2 separate regions of the Homo sapiens genome follow, and region 1 is linked to region 2. Evidence: promoter capture Hi-C in 16 types of primary human blood cells and fetal thymus (Javierre and others, 2016). All regions are on one chromosome and are shown on one strand. The core of a region is centred on a gene start or on the middle of the fragment in contact, and the rest is flanking DNA. Distances in the headings are between cores, read along the strand shown. Region 1 overlaps MSH3 (mutS homolog 3). Region 2 holds the start of CKMT2 (creatine kinase, mitochondrial 2).

The links. Contacts are between HindIII fragments. The CHiCAGO score rates a contact against its expected background, and 5 or more counts as called.
Region 1: a fragment that was not itself captured here is called in contact with the fragment with the promoter of CKMT2 in region 2 in 1 of 17 cell types (endothelial precursors); the score reaches 5.8 in endothelial precursors.

Annotation. Positions count from the first base shown.
Region 1 is chr5:80,759,219-80,763,417 of GRCh38, reverse strand. It overlaps MSH3 (mutS homolog 3), which reads right to left. Exons shown (of 24, transcript NM_002439.5): 13 at 1,740-1,872. Among named protein-coding and RNA genes, the nearest start is that of DHFR, 110 kb to the right of the region's middle. The HindIII fragment of the contact is 1,290 bases long and covers 1,307-2,596 here.
Region 2 is chr5:81,231,834-81,236,651 of GRCh38, reverse strand. It overlaps CKMT2 (creatine kinase, mitochondrial 2), which reads right to left and starts at 3,330. Exons shown (of 10, transcript NM_001099735.2): 1 at 3,275-3,330. The HindIII fragment of the contact is 4,095 bases long and covers 676-4,770 here.

The DNA.
Region 1 (4,199 bases), core at 702-3,201, 470 kb after region 2:
TGGTGTACCCAATAATGATGCAATAGGCTCCCCGGCCCCATAACCAACTCATATATCTTTCTCCCCAGGATCAGTATTTCCAGTTCTGGCTTGTGCATTGTTTTCAAATTTAGCTGAGGCATGTAAAACAGTTACGTAAGTCCTCTTGGGCACCTCAAGTATTCTTAGAAGCAGTACTTATCATTCTAGTAAAACTCTGTGGGGGTAAAAGGGGATGAAAAATATAGAAACACTAATGAAAAATTGGTCACAACTAAAATTTAGGCATATTGGCTGGGCGCAGTGGCTCATGCCTGTAATCCCAGCACTTTGGGAGGCCGAGGCGGGTGGATCACCTGAGGTCAGGAGTTCGATACCAGCCTGGCCAATGTGGTGAAACCCCATCTCTGCTAAAAATACAAAAATTAGCCAGGCATAGTGGCGGGTGCCTGTAACCCCAGCTACTCAGGAGGCTGAGACAGAAGAATCGATTAAACCTGGGAGGTAGAGGTTGCAGTGAGCCGAGATCACGCCATTGCACTCCAGCCTGGGTGACGAGAGTAAAAGTCTGTCTCAAAAATAAAATAAAATAAAATAACATAAAATAACATAACATAACATAACATAACATAACATAACATAACATAAAATAAAATAAAAAATTAAAATAAAATAAAATAAAACAAAATAAAACAAAATAAAATAAAAATTTAGGCACATAAAAATGGTTACACAGTAAAATTATTAAATTGGCAAGGAGTTACATTTGGAGGAAAAATAAAATTTGCTTATGAAAAGTGGCAACCAGAAAAAAAAAATGGCAGTCAAGATAACTACATCAAACATGATAGCATCCAAAAGACACAGCCAATGAAAACACAGTCAAGAATCCTGGGTCTAAATACAGATTCTGTTACTAGCAAGTTACTAAACCTCTGAGCATCATCATATTAGCCAAGGTAATTCAAGTGGTTGCAGCATTTTATATATATACATATATATATACACACACATATATAGCATTAGATATAATTTCTTATTAGTAAGAAGGTAATAAAAATAGTAACTTCTCAATGTCATAAAGTTTTGATAAGGAACAAAGAGTATAAGGTATGTGAATGACTTCTGCAAAAAGTAAAACACCATAGTTTATAGTGTTTTATCATTTAAAAATATTAATAATTTTTTTAATTTTAGGCATATTTTGAAGATAACCTAAATTATTTCCCTAACCGTGGAAAATGACTCATTTTTGCTATGACTCAAACTGTAAAGCTTAAGTGATAAAAATCAAAATAATCCTTTACTCACCTTCAATATCCAAGCTTGTTTGCATACTAACTACCACCACAGATGTTATACTAGCAGATTTTTCCATAGTTTAAGAAACAATAAGTTGTTCTAAGATCAAAAGAAATAAGGTTTTTTTTTTCTAAAATAACAAGTCTACATAAATTTCCTATTTTGATAATAGTCTGTACTTTCAGGATGAAACAGGAGAATACCCTATATTATAACAGAAGGGCCTCTATGTTGCTGTAGTTAAGGCACATGAGAAAACTTTATTTTCTACAATGGAAAAATTGGAATAACTCTAATTTGTACTATTAAAATTTCTGAGGATTCAGCTACTCTCGCATGCTATTTGTAAGATTTTACAAAATAAAATAATAATAGAGCTCTCAAAAGTTTTCTTTTAATATATAGTGTCCTCAAGCTGAAGAACACTGTCAGCTTTAATAGATTTCTATCACACTTACTTTTTTGTGATAAATGCTACAGAGTCCCCTCTCTATGTCGGGCAATTTACGTAGATGATTTTCTATCTGACCAAACACACTAGATTCTGAATGGAGAACTTCCGATACAGCATCAAGCCGGGCATTTATTTCCCTGTGAGAAAAGAGTAATAGCAATAATCAGATATGTTAGGAATTCAGAATATAGACATTTCCCACTCTAATGCCCAGGAATGTGACACAGCCACTTATTAGGCACAAAGGAAACTCCTCCTTCATACTGAGATAGTCATGTGGGAAGGACTCCCTGACAAAACTCCAATGGGCGTATGCATTGAGAGGAGGGTGCACTGGGGTGGAGACACAGAAGTTCACGCCTTTGGCAGCAGGGAGGAGCCTGGCCCCTCCTCCTCCTGGGTGGAACCTGGGATTACAGTCTGTGAGGCGGGAAGCATACTAGCAAGATTCTCGTTCTGTCTTGTTGGAGAGTCTTTGTTTCCCTTTTTATTGCTCTTTGCCCAATAAATTCCATTTTTCTCCTCCTTCGAATTGTCTGCGGGCCTAATTTTACATGGCTGTGTGATGAGGACCACCCTCCCCCAACCTCGCTGTCTTTAACTGAACTAAGGAAAAAGTCCTACAACAATATATCTGGTCCTTCCATGCCTCTTATTATTATCTGAATCAAAGAGCAGGTATCATACAAGGAAATTCACTAGCTGGGTTTGACAAAGACAGGCTCACCAAGCAAACACAAAGACTACATTTCCCAGTCTCCCCTGTAGTTAGGTATGGCCATGTACCTCAGTTCTGAAGCATGGGTGGGAATGATGTAAGCCACCTCTAGCCCTGGCCCATAAAAACTTCCTGAATAAGCTTTCACATTCTCCTAATCCCCTTTGCCAGCTAGGCAAGCTTGTGAGCCTCATGGTAACTCCATCAGCCTGAGCCCACAGTGGAGCAGAAAATCCACCATTCCCGGATCTGTTACCAATTGAACTTATATTAGCAAGAAATAAACTTCTAATGTATTTAAGCCACTTAGACGGAGAATTTGTTTGCTGATAGCTTGCATTACCTTGGCTAATATAATAGTTAAACAATGACCAACAAGACGACCTAGTGGTGGTGGTGATGGCTGAACTGACCAACTGTTTGAATGAATTAAATTAAACATATTGACCCTGACCAAAGATTGGGGAGTAGCAATAGAAAGTGCAGAGGATATGACATTCAGATACATAGGAGATCAGTGCTGCGGGATTTTACCAACGGCTACACCTTAAGTGATGACTCAACTTAAAACGGAAATCTGATGGACTAAATGTATCATCAATGAGATGTGGTCCATGAAGTACCTATAAACATCAAAGGCCCACACTAGGTATAATGACCATCTGTAGTATTAAAAACTAAGATAAGTAAACATGTCTGGTGAGTAGTAAGTCCTCAGTAAGGATTTAAAGTGTTTGTAAATGAATGAATGAATAAATAAACAAGTGGATGAAAGAATGAACTGATGTTTTGGGGGAAAGGAGGCATCAGCCACTGAATAAACTTGGTGTCTCTCAAAATTCTGTTGACATCATACACACTGATATGAAAAGCAAATCTTAGATCAGGATCCTGGCTAGATTACAATCAGACTGAGGACTTTCGATTTAGTGAGTGCTTTTGTCTTTATTATCCTTAACTACCTGTGAGATCATGCCTTTTCATAATACAGAGCTTCTATACTAACTTCAGGCCTCATTTTTGTTCCATTTTTCTCTGGCTCATACTCTTGCATGCAGAAGGACCATTTGTTAGTACGATGCAGGAGAGCAAGACAGAGCTTTGTACACACACGGGCTGGCTCTTCCATTCTCAGCAGGGTGGACTCTGTAATCCATCCACCACTCTCCACCTCTACAGCCACTACTATAGTCTAAGTCCAAATTATATTGAAACAGCCTCCTAACTTTCCTCCCCACTTCCATTCCTTTTTCCAACTCATTCTCCACACTGCAGCCTGAGTGGTTTTCCTAAAGCCCAAATCTGTTCATGTCACACCTCTGCTTTAAACTCATCTGTGACTTGCTATTAATCTTAGGTTCAAATCCAGAATCTTTAATTGTCCTAAAAAACAACTGATGCCTGTTTAGCTCTTGGGTCTCCCCTGAGATCATGTGTCACTCTCTTCCTCCTACTCTAAGTTCCAGTCAGACTGCATATCTTTCAATGACTTAGTTACTCCAAGCTCTCTGACATGGAGGCTTTCTCATTTGCTGCTTACTTTGCCTAGAAGGTTATTTTCCTCTTCCCTACCACCCATCAGCTACACTTCGTCTGGCGAACTCCTACCCTCTCTTCCTCTGAAAGGCCTTTCTAGATTCACTAGACCAGACTTAATCCCTTTACTATCATTTCCCATACTACCGTCTTTTCCCTTCTCATAATGGTAATCATAATTGTATTTCTTCTTCAATGGGAATTTACTAC
Region 2 (4,818 bases), core at 2,081-4,580:
TCTGAGCCTTTGCTTGAGTGTTTTCTTTCCCCTGGAATATCCTTTCCAACCCTATACACCGACTGAGTCAAACCTTCTGTCTTCTTTTTGAGCATTTATGAGCTCCTATCATGAGCCATGCATTATGTAAGGGACCTTACAAACACAATCAGTCTATGTAACAATCCTGCCAAGTATGCTTTATTTTGGGCATGGGGAAACAGAGGCTCAAGAGAAGTGACCTGCCCCAGGTTTCAGTGCCAGCACACTAGTAGAGCTGGGATTTGAACCCAGGTTTGTCTTTTGCACTGGATTCAGCTTCCTTGCAGACCGCAGCACCTCACATACAGCCCTTCACTGACCAGCAATTGGAGGGAAACCACCCCTGTGGCTTAAAACCTGTGGTGCCACAGATCATTCCACTCAGTCAAACCCCCAAGACCGTAGAAGTGCATTTAACACAGCAGCTCCTAGGCACAGGATTGTCACCTCAGGGCATATGACTTCTAAAGTTGCAGATTATAAACTTGTTCTCTTTCCCTGTCCTCAGGCTCCCGCTGAAGTAACCCAGACGCCAGGGATATCTCTGCCCGCTCCACTCTGACTCTAGTGCTCAATGTGCCTGCCAGGCCTTGCTAGGGATGCTGTGCCAGTGTGAAGAGGAAGGTGGTCTCCAGCTCTCACCCCATAGAAGCTTTCTGCCTCAGTTTCCCTAACCTGGAACACCACAATGACTCCTGAATTGAAAAACACTGCTTACAGCATCTAGGCTAAAATTGGCAGAATACCTGGGCTCCAAGCCAGGGAGATTTGGAGCGATGGGGAGGTGCAAGAGCACAGCCAGACAGAGCCAAAAGCAATAATATCCTGTTTGTTCCTACACTGCCCTCCGCATTAAAAAAACAACGACAGCTACATCAAGCCCTTTTGTTAAGTGGCCACAAGCTGTACATTTCTTGGTCCCAGGCAGGTATACTGGGAGTTCAGATCCTGGTCTTAATGCTCTTCTCTGGTTCTGTGACATCCTAGAATGTGAAGAGGAGGCCTTGGGTTCTGTCACTGCCTCCAGCCCGAGCCCCCTGCTCTTCCTGGGCATCCCGGATGGACCATGTCTGCCTTTCTGCTGACTCAGATTTATTTCTGGTCCAGCCATTCACAGCGTCCATGTGTCTGAACTCCTCAGCCAGAGGGCAGGTGGAAGGGCAGGAGGAGGACCACGTGTCAGCTTTCCATCCAGAGAGCCACCCCAAAACAGAGGATGTCCTTGGGCTTGGACCAGCTCCACAGAACACTCTGAACAAATTCTCACGATGCCAGGCTCCTAGGCCGCAGAAAATGCCTGTCTCCTCCCAGTTCTAAGATAGCAAAGGGTGTGCGTTACCTCAAAACCACTTAGTACGCAGCCAACCTTAATGGGCACTCTTGGCATTACTGTTCTACTCAGCAAATAGACAGTCCTAGGCAGGAAGGAGATATTTAGAATCCTACTCTGTAAAACAGAGGCCTTTCCTAGGCCTCCTGTGATGAAGGCATGGGACCGTTACCAGACTTTGTCCCTCAAGGGTAAATTGTTTTCAAGAAAACAGGAAGCTAGGAGCCATCTAGTCCTTTGAAGTGCTGTGAAGTGGGCTGCCTTCTTCCCCGCCCAAGGGAGGGAGTCTCTGAGGCTTCCTGGCAAGGGTTAGTGTGACCTCCAGCAGTCACCTTCAGCATGGGTTGCTGCTGGATTCCTGGCTCTGTGGGCAGGAGCTCCCAGAATGCTTGACACAGACTCTACGTGGCTTCCTTTGGGAAGACAAATGGAGCCTGCTGTAGGCTATGGCAGAGATGGAGGCCCAGGGCCTCTGAGCTAGGGGCAAAGTCAGTCTCCCTCCTGTGTCTGAAACCCCAGGACTCCCCATTCTGTATGGTACTCCCCCCGACCCAACCCACAGTTTCCTTAGGAAAACTGACCTGCCTATGGCCCATTTCCTAATGATATGATTTGGTCATGAGGCTGGCAGAGTCCATGGGGTGCATGTGGCACTCCTGTGCTTTGCTGTGACAGTGCCTTAACCCACAGGCGTGATTAACTCCAAAGTCTGGGGTCTTTGGAAAAGGTGCCTATCAATGCAGAGGAAGTGAAGTGCTCAGACCGCCAAACAAGGCCAAGAGCCTCCCGGAAGAGCCTGCCTGTCAGGAAGTCTCTGGCCACATGCTGTGGCCATGCTCGCCTCTATGAGAGGACAGAGAGAACAGACCAAGGACACGAGTTCAGAACAGAGAAAATGTGAGAGCCGTAGACAGGAAAAGCAGCCCTTCTGGAAACAGCACACTGGTGTACCTAGCGTAACCTTGTCCTGAGGGCCACTAACTGCCCCTCACTTGACTCAGCTGACACTGTGAGGGGTCACGAGCCTGGCAACACTTTCTGGAAGGTCTAAAGGGCAGCACTGAGGAGACCTAAAGGTTTTGGTCTGTTTGTCAAATGTCACTCTTCCTCACATTCGGAGGAGAGCATTTGAAGGCAGACCACTCTAGGGGCAAGAACAGGACTGATTTTAACCCCGGGACAACCAACCAAGCAAGCAAGCTAGTGAAGAACAGGCCTCTGCCCAGGTGAAACACGTGGGGCCAATTCCATAGGTTTTTTTTTTTTTTTTTTTTTTTTTAATTAACCTCCGGTGGGAAAGGTAAGGATGGTGGGGAGGGGAGACGGTTACTTGTCTCATTATCAATGTGTTAGTATTAGTGACGGCAAAACTGAATCTCTAGCAATACTATTTGCCCGTTTAAACTGGGCCTGGCTATTGGGCTTATGAGCAAATAGCTTCTCAAAATTTTAATTTTCTAGTTAGTTCATCCCAAGTCACTGATTTACATGTCTTTTGAGACTGAGACTGCTGGGGAAAAACATTCCCAGAAATGAGTGGATTAGACTCTGTGAATTACAAGGGAAAGACACTTTAAGTTTAAAGTTGTCCCAAACTTAGCGTCAAAATACAGCCTTTAGATTTTTTTTTCCATCGAGAAAAATTCCTGATTCACTACCAAAAAGAGGCCCTGCAGGCAGCGTGCTGATTTGTTCTGCTCCTGGTGCTGAGCTGCCCCCACCTGTGTGCAGGGAGGAGGGGTCGCTTCGGCCAAGGGCGGGAGCTCTGCTGGCTTTAGCGAGTCACCATTGCCTCCTCGCAGTCAGCGTCCTAACGGGGTCCCCGTCTACAGCCCGGCATCCACTCCTCCAAGGCCCTTCACACTGGCTCTAGCCATGACCCCTCTTTGGAGGAATAAAGCAGAGTTTCACGGACTCACCGACCTTGAAGCCGGAGCCTCCCACGTCCTGCTGAGCGCACACAGCCAAGAAGTGTATGCAGGGCGAGCTGGTCGGGCCGGCCTGGAAATCCTCCCTGGCGGGGCGGGGCCAGAGGACCTCACCAATCCCAGCGTAGACCTCCGGGCGCACCGGCCCCCACAGCTGTACCCTTGAAGGCAGGCCCGTGGGCGCTGGGCCCTTTATAGCACCTGCCCTTTCTCTGAAACGTAAAAGGCGGAGCCAGTCTTGCTTCCCAGGCCTGGTCCTGGAGGCTCCTTTGCCAGGGCTCTGGATCTCAGAATGGAAGGGCCAGCAGGTGAAATTGCACATCTGTTGGGGGATTTGTTTCTCTCTTCTCTCAGGTGTACCAGCCTTGGGGCCCTGGTGAGCTCTGGAGGATGAACCCCTCAAGCCAAGGTCGGAGAGGAGGATGTCTCAAGCTGCCTGGCTCCAGCAGCTGACCGGGCCCTGAGCCAGGGGCTGGAGGGACCTCCTTCCAGCGTCTTTGTCTGGGACCTGGATCCAGGGACAATTACAGTCAGGTTTCTGTTCAAGATCAGGCCCCCTGCAGTAGATGGCTAGATCATCTCGCTTTCTGTCCACACCAGCTTAACCCACGGCAGGCCATAGCCCTGCTTAAAAATAGCCCCGCTTGGGATATCCACCGCACGCCGGGAAGGCTGCCTGTAAATAGCAATGACCCAGCAGGATTTTGGACAGCAGCCCTGCCATTTCAAGGGAGCCTGCCTAGGCATCTGGTGACCGTCACGTACTCAGCTTCTGAGGCCACGTGGACATGACCAATTGGTTCCTGTCTCTTCCTTCTCAGAGCCCAGCTCATGCTCAGAGGACTTGATGGAGCAAGGGGTGGAGCCCCAGGAATAACCTTCTACCCAGTGTGGTTCTCCTTCATTCTCTGAAGGAGTTTCCATTTCTTTTAAACACGACCCATGTTTAAAAATATCATCTATTTTACCTTTGCATGGGGTACTGACAGGGAGAGCACGTGAGGGGGCCTTTTGGCGGGATGGGAAGTTTCCTGATTGGGGTGGTTATATAAAGATTGGGACCAATCAAATTAATTTCATAATCCTTTAAGGAGTCAAGACCCACCAGCTTGCATATTCTATCATCAGGGCAGTCTCGGTTTATTCCTTCTCAAAATAGCTCTTTTCCACACACACTTGTTTCAAGTCAGTTCAGGCACCAACTGAAATAAATCCATTGACCCTGAAATAGCCCAGCTCCCAGATCCAGAAAATTATAAGGCTTTTAAAGAGCATGGAATTGTAGATTTAAAGAATGGCAGTTATAGCAAAAACCTCCTTTTCCTCCCCAATTGCCTAATCAACATTTAGGGCCCCCTCCACTCACCCGACCTCAACACCTTATATTTTATAGAGTAAATGTTTATGTTAGTAAGGTCAGAAGAAAAATTGGGTCATTGTTGAGAAAAGAGGGTACCACCCTTCTTTTGGGGGACTGGTCCTCTTCAAGCTTATTATAAAGGTGGTGTGATGGGGATGAAATCTCTACAAGGGACTCAC